2 separate regions of the Homo sapiens genome follow, and region 2 is linked to region 1. The links are contacts of gene promoters, found by promoter capture Hi-C in blood cells and fetal thymus (Javierre and others, 2016). All regions are on one chromosome and are shown on one strand. The core of a region is centred on a gene start or on the middle of the fragment in contact, and the rest is flanking DNA. Distances in the headings are between cores, read along the strand shown.

The links. The method cuts DNA at HindIII sites, captures the fragments that hold promoters and counts their contacts. A CHiCAGO score of 5 or more calls a contact.
Region 2: a fragment that was not itself captured here is called in contact with the fragment with the promoter of SDC1 in region 1 in 1 of 17 cell types (endothelial precursors); the score reaches 5.4 in endothelial precursors.

The regions. Positions count from the first base shown.
Region 1 is chr2:20,223,377-20,226,908 of GRCh38, reverse strand. It overlaps SDC1 (syndecan 1), which reads left to right and starts at 1,779. Exons shown (of 5, transcript NM_002997.5): 1 at 1,779-2,107. The coding sequence starts at 2,042. RefSeq lists enhancers at 452-1,131, 1,132-1,811 and silencers at 1,363-1,742, 1,803-2,222, 2,263-2,322, 2,343-2,802, 3,213-3,412. The HindIII fragment of the contact is 9,225 bases long and covers 1-3,532 here.
Region 2 is chr2:20,324,029-20,327,560 of GRCh38, reverse strand. PUM2 (pumilio RNA binding family member 2) reads left to right here. Exons shown (of 21, transcript NM_015317.5): 2 at 183-251. The coding sequence starts at 201. Among named protein-coding and RNA genes, the nearest start is that of PUM2, 25 kb to the left of the region's middle. The HindIII fragment of the contact is 852 bases long and covers 1,322-2,173 here.

The sequences.
Region 1 (3,532 bases), core at 530-3,029:
AGCCTCCCGAGTAGCTGGGATTATAGGCACCTGCCACCATATCCGGCTAATTTTTGTATTTTTAGTAGAGATGGGGATTCACCGTGTTAGCCAGGCTGGTCGAGAACTCCTGACCTCAGGTGATCTGCCCGCCTCGGCCTCCCAAAGTGCTGGGGTTACAGGCGTGAGCCATCGCGCTTGGCCGTGAGTGACTTTTAAAAAATGAAAAGACTCCATCAAATCCTCCCTGACCCCAGTTTCCTCTGTTGTGAGCAGTAGAGAAAGGTAAGATTCCAAAATTCCTATTTTTCCACCATACTGGGTTGAAGGGATCTGTGGAGCCACCCTCTGGTAGAGGTAGAACCTTCGAAAAGGGCATTTTTAATCCACAGGGACTCCTCGAGCTCGGCTGGACCTCCGTGGTGCCGTGCTGTGAGACCATCCATCACTCAGGCACTCAGCGAGCCCACATCGGCCCCCAAGAACCCTGATGAAGGTCTTCCTGCCCCCTAGACAGACTTGGGGAGACGGACACCCCAAAAGCGAGAGCTCTTTGAGGTCAAACAGGTGCTCAGGAGCAGGGGTACAAGCAGGCCATCATCTTTTAGTGCTGTGAGGAGGAGTGGGGGGATGAGATGGGGACGCAGGAGGCTGCTCGGCTCCAGAGCCTGCTCCACGGTGGAAGGTGGAGGAGAGTCCAGGGTCCCACGGTCAGTCCCTGCGTGGCCCAGGAAGGTTTAATTCTTTTAAAGAGGAACACTGGACACTTCCCGATATTTTCTTGGTCCCCAGCTCAGGCCGACCCAAGTTCTTGCCTTCCGCCTAGGGAAGACAGGGGAGGACGACGCCATCTTTGGTCTCAGGGCCCAGGTGCGAAGGTCGTTTGGCACCATCTCTCCTGCCTGCCAGATGTGGGCAGGGCCCGTCCGGTTCTTCCCCTTTGCTCTCTCGGCCGTTTCCCCTACACCCGCAGGCCTTCCACAGCTTTTTGAACTGAGGCCCAGGGCCTCGCAGGGGATCTCGAAGGAGCAGCAACTGCACGGTGCTCCTCAGATCCGCGTGCCCGAGGTCACCGGGGAACAAAGAAGTTACTTATTTTTCCTTTTAGCTCAGATGAAGAGAGAGGGCGTTGTCTTCCACAGAAAAACGCTGCGAACTCCGCCCCCGTCCCCCTTTTTCTTGCAGCCCTTCCGTGCGGGTGCAGCTGTTTAAACTAAGGCCCCAAGTCTCCAGCACTTTGTGGAGTGCAGGAAGAACGCGAGCGTACGGGAGAATCTGGGCCGGCGGGGCGCAGCGAGCCGCATCGCAGCTGGAGGACAGCCGGGGTGTGTCTGTGTGTGTTTGCCCGTCGGTTGAAGGCCCCATCGCCCCCGGGTCCCCGCCCTGCCCCAGAAAGCGTTCCCCAAGAGAGCTAGGAGTCCTGCGCACCTGGAGCGCGCTCCGCGTCCACGCCCAGAGGGCGCTGCACACTCGCGCCCGAGGACTGCCTGCCCCCCTTCAGCCCCTCTCCCGGGCTGCGCCTCCGCACTCCGGGCCCGGGCAGAAGGGGGTGCGCCTCGGCCCCACCACCCAGGGAGCAGCCGAGCTGAAAGGCCGGGAACCGCGGCTTGCGGGGACCACAGCTCCCGAAAGCGACGTTCGGCCACCGGAGGAGCGGGAGCCAAGCAGGCAAGAACCTTAGGAGCGGGCCGGGGGTGGGGCGTTCCGAAGGGGCCGGGAGGGGTGGCTGGGGGGCGGGGTCCTGGGGGGTGTGGACTGGGGCTGGCCGGGAGACCTGGCGGAGCTGGGGGTGGGGGGCCAGTTTTTGCAACGGCTAAGGAAGGGCCTGTGGGTTTATTATAAGGCGGAGCTCGGCGGGAGAGGTGCGGGCCGAATCCGAGCCGAGCGGAGAGGAATCCGGCAGTAGAGAGCGGACTCCAGCCGGCGGACCCTGCAGCCCTCGCCTGGGACAGCGGCGCGCTGGGCAGGCGCCCAAGAGAGCATCGAGCAGCGGAACCCGCGAAGCCGGCCCGCAGCCGCGACCCGCGCAGCCTGCCGCTCTCCCGCCGCCGGTCCGGGCAGCATGAGGCGCGCGGCGCTCTGGCTCTGGCTGTGCGCGCTGGCGCTGAGCCTGCAGCCGGCCCTGCCGGTGAGTGCGGCCGGCGGCCAGGCGGGGAGGCGGCGGGAAGCCGGGACTGGTCACCCGCGGATGCCGGCGGGTGCACGTGGAGGGGGAGGGGGAGCGAAGACTTCCCTTCTTCCCGCGCTAGCCCAGCGGGTCCCGGGACGGTGAGCCCCGAGACCAGGGCTCCAGCCCCAATTTCCTCCGCTGTCGGTGGGTGCCGCACCGGTCCCGCGCTGGGGAGGGTGGGGGGCCGGGGCCCCGCGCTCAATTATGTAAAACGTCTCCACATCTGTCGGAGCCCGCCAGCCCACAGCGGCGCCCGGGGTCGCCCGTTCCCACCCTCCTCGCCCCGGCCACCGCGGCGGCCGGGCCCCCGTCGGTGACCCGGGGGGATGCAGTGACCGCGGCCACAACGCCCCCCCTGCAGACCCTAATTCAAACCAGACCCGCGGGCTTGCGCCCCAGCGCCGCCGAGCCCGGGCGCCCCGCCCCTTGCGCCAGGGCAAGTTTGGGCGCAGCGCGGCCGGCGCGGGAGCGGGAGGCGGCCGCGTTGGCCCGGGGAGCCGGGCCAGGGCTGCGTGGGGGGCGCGGGCGAGCGTCTGCAGGGCCCTCGGGCTTGCCGTGGGCGGCTCGAGGTGAGCTGAGCCGGCCCGGCAGCGGGAGGTTCCGGGAAGTTGGCCTCGGAACGCTGGAGACCCGGAGGAGCCCAACTTCTGGGCTGCTGAAGTTGAGCTGGCCCCGGAGGGCGCGTTCCCGTGCCGGGCACGGCCGAGGCGCAGGCGCCTTCCACGCGAGGGGACCCGGGAATGGCCTCCCGCTCCCCGGCTCGGCTTTGTGCTGAAGCCGCGCGGAGGGAAGGCGGGTCCCTTGGCCCGCCCAGTGCAGCTGGGAGAAAAGAGGGGCAGATGTGGAGCTCGGGGCTGTAAGAGGCCTTTGGGTGGGATGCAGCATCCACCTTCAGCGGGGCTGACGCTCCACTAAAGAGGGACGTGGCCGACAAAGAGCAGCCTGAGGGTCCCCAGAAAGTGGCTCTCCCGCCCCGGCCACCGGCCGCTAGCCCGCCTTCCCCAATGGGGGCGCTTTGTTCTCGGCCCCTGTAACCCTTTCCTGGGAACAGCCCCGTAACGCCGGCCTTGACGGGGGCTGGGACCTGGGCCGCAGCCAGGTGTCAGCGCGGGCCGCCCGGTGCCCGAGTCTGCCGCCCGAGTTCGCCTCCCCAGCCCCCGCGCCCGGTGCTGGCGTCCCGGGGTCCCTCCTGCGGGCCGGCTCGGCCATCCCCAGGGATGCAGAGGGGAGGTGCGGAGCCAGGGGCGCTTCCCCTTCCGGAAGTGGCGGTGTCTCGCCACTACATCTGGACAGTTCGACTTCCCCAGCTCTGGCAAAGGGAGGCACGTGGGCAGGGAAGGGGCGGGGGCGGGGTGGGCACTCGGGTTCTCCACTGCTAATGTG
Region 2 (3,532 bases), core at 498-2,997, 100 kb before region 1:
CTACAGGTTTTAAGGTAGATTGCTGTCATAAACTGGGAAAACCTGTCTTCCCTACAGAAATCAGTGCTTCCCTTTCTCAGATCATGCTAATATTAGTCATAGCAGCAATATAATATAAAAATAGTTGAAGAAGTCTGTTTAAACATTTCTTTGTACTAATTTTTGTTTTTGTTATTCAACAGGTTTGATCTGTGGATGAAATGAATCATGATTTTCAAGCTCTTGCATTAGAATCTCGGGGAATGGGAGAGGTAAATGTTTGCAAATACTAAGAACTTACACCTCACTTTATTTTGAGCCATTGTAACTTATTTTTTTTTTTTAACCATCTCCCTTCCTGGAAATAGTGGTCATATCTTCCAAACTATATGGAGGGGTTTAAATTTCAGATTGTACAATTCTGTTGTGATTTTTAGCTTTAAAAAAAAAGCTTTTAGCAGTAATTTTTAGTGTGATTATTTGTGTCTAGGTGATTTGATTGACTTGGTGAGATAATTTCTTATATTTTGGTAATGAACTATAATTAGCTTTGCTTGAAAAAAACTCTTTAGCCTTGTTCTGCTGTTTTATATATGTATGCTGTGTTTGCTTTAGCCATACTTGTTTTACTATTCTCCCTTCCAAAAATCTCTTGTTCACCCAAAACTGTTTACTTAACAAACTTCTAATCTTCTACAAGACTCGACTGGGATGTATCTATTGTCTAGTTGCTATCTGCCATAGAATTAAGCCCTTCATCTGGCTTCTAGTTCTTCATACAGACTTTTATTATATTGCTGGTTAGTTTGTTTTACACTTGTCTCCCCTGTAAATTATTAGCTTTGAATGCCTAGCATAGTAGGCACTTCGCATTTCTTAATGGATTTTATCATTCTCGTTAATCTATGATTTTCTTTGGAGCACCAAAGTTAACCTCATCATTATATATTTTAAGGCATCAAATACTTCATTTTTCATATAGCTAATGAATACTTAGAGAACTTTGATTATGGAAACTCTTGTGGTGACATCTGTATTTTGTCATGTTCTGTACTACTAACGTAGACTTTGATAATAGAAGATAACAGTGAACAGACCTAAGATGTGTAATTAACTGCTTGCTCCTGGAGATTATTTTACCTTGGTAGAATAGAGACCTTCATGAGACTCACTCCATCCAATGCTGTGCTCTTCAGATGCAGAAAAGAGTCCAAGTCTCTCCTTTGGGCCACAAGAGGGCACCCTGCAGCTAGCTAACCCTCCCCTTCTTCAGAACAGCGTTTTCCAAAGAGTATGTCATTTTCAGAGGACTGATTTAAGGGTGAGTTAAGGTGCTTAAGCTTAAGTATTGCCAAAATAAATTTGTTAGACCAGTGCATAAGGTAAAATTCTCAACCCTAAGAAAAATTGAAGAAATTGAATTTTTTTTGTAAACAAAATCTGTAGCTTCACTGCAGTGCAATATCTGGTTAGGCATTATTTATGCTATTGGCAAATAAGAGGCAGATGAAAAGGGCTTTTGTTCTTTCCTGGCCACTACTTTTCTTTGCTCTTTAAAAAGCAGAATAACATATATTAAAAGCAGGGTTGAACAGTGCTTCAACCTTCTTGTCTATGACAAACTTGAACTTGCTGATAATTCTTTAAGAGCAAGAGAGTCAGGCTGGGCACAGTGGCTCACACCTGTAATCCCAGCACTTTGGGAGTCCAAGGTGGGCGGATCACAAGGTCAGGAGATAGAGACCATCCTGGCTAATACGGTGAAACCCCGTCTCTACTAAAAATACAAAAAATTAGCCGGGCGTGGCGGCAGGCGCCTGTAGTCCCAGCTACTCGGGAGGCTGAGGCAGGAGAATGGCGTGAACCCGGGAGGCGGAGCTTGCAGTGAGCCGAGATTGCACCACTGCTCTCTGGCCTGGGGGACAAACCGAGACTCCGTCTCAAAAAAAAAAAAAAAGAACAAGAGAGTCATACTCCTACATTAATTTTAGACTCCCTTTATCACTTCTTAGATGTATATTGTATATATGTTTTCAAACTGGTGTTTTTTCACTCTTTCTAAATAATATTTAATAATTTTAAAGTTATCTTTGCAGATCAAAAAAATGTCATGATCTGAAACAGTGGTTGAAAGGGTTTAGTTATTTGGGGGAAAGAGTAGCTGGGTTGAATGGTATGTTAAAAGAAAAAAGCTTAAATCCAGACTTCCTTATTGGACATGTCAGATATGGAGAGTAAAAGTGACCACGGTTTCCTGCTACCTGGTGGATAGCAGCATGTCAGTGTATCTGTAACCTTCATCCAGTAAAAATATATTTTAAGATGCTCTCATTAGTTTATTTCTTAACAGTTTAAGCACTAACACTGTCACCTCAAAAAGATAGCTAAGAAAAACCTACTGAGATTTCTGTCTCTGGGTTCTCTCTCCCACAAGCCTTTCTATCTTTCCTCATCTCACAGGCAGCAAGGAACCTTCTGGGATTTCCTTCTTTGCCTCTCTCTCTCACCAGTCTTCTCCTCCTTTCCTGACAGGTGAGGTTTTTTTGTTTTTGTTATATCCCAGAATTCATTCATTGGAATAAATTAAAAGCAGCCTTGAGTTTCTGGCTCTTAAGTTTTCTAAAAATGCTTTTTTTTTTTTTTAATGCAAAACGGTTTTTAAAATAGATTACCCTTGTCTTGACTTTCTTTAAAAATAGTTTTTGCTTACTGTTGTCTTAAGTGTTGTAAATCTCTAATGTACAAAGTGTTACATCTACATGTAGGACTAATTTCAAATTTACTGTGTTTTGTAGATCATGATGTCTTTACTGAGCCATCATCAGAAGGCATCCACAAATAAGAGATTTGTATTCACCTATTCATAAACTTACCCTCTCTGTTTTTACACTGATAGCATGTTTCTGTCGAAAGACCTACTGATTTGCATTATGTCATGTGGCTTAAAAAGAGCAAAACTAATCTATAGGAGATTGAACTCTGCTTTATTAGTGTAGTGTTAAGTCAGACACACTGCATAGGCTCATACCTATTAGCTTCTCTAGGTTGTTGGGGCACATATAGCTGGGTTTCTGCTTATTTTTTAAATAACAGGAAAGAGGGCCCTGTCTGAAATTCTTCAGAAAATCCAGAATCTAACTTTAAATCACTGAATTAATATCTTTTATTTTGAGAATATCTTTATAGCTTAGTATGATAAGCAGTGCTCTCTCCTGTCTTTCCAACACAATAATATATAAAGAAAGCATTAAAGAAAGCCTGTGTACTAAGATTCTATGTAGTGTGGTGAAGTGGAAGACTTACTAGGTAGGGGAGGAAGGAGACTTGTGTTTTCTCCTAGATCTCTCCCTAGTGTTATGACCTTGAGTAAGACTGACTGACTTTAAAAATAATAATAAGAATAACCTTTTGTATGAATCACATGTATCTCTGAAATGCTCTTGCTTTAATATAAGCTCTTAGGGATAACTGGAATGGAAACCAGCCATTTCAAATAGTGTTTAAATAGCTGGTCATAGTTTGTCTAGATAATCTCTATCTTAATTCTATCTTA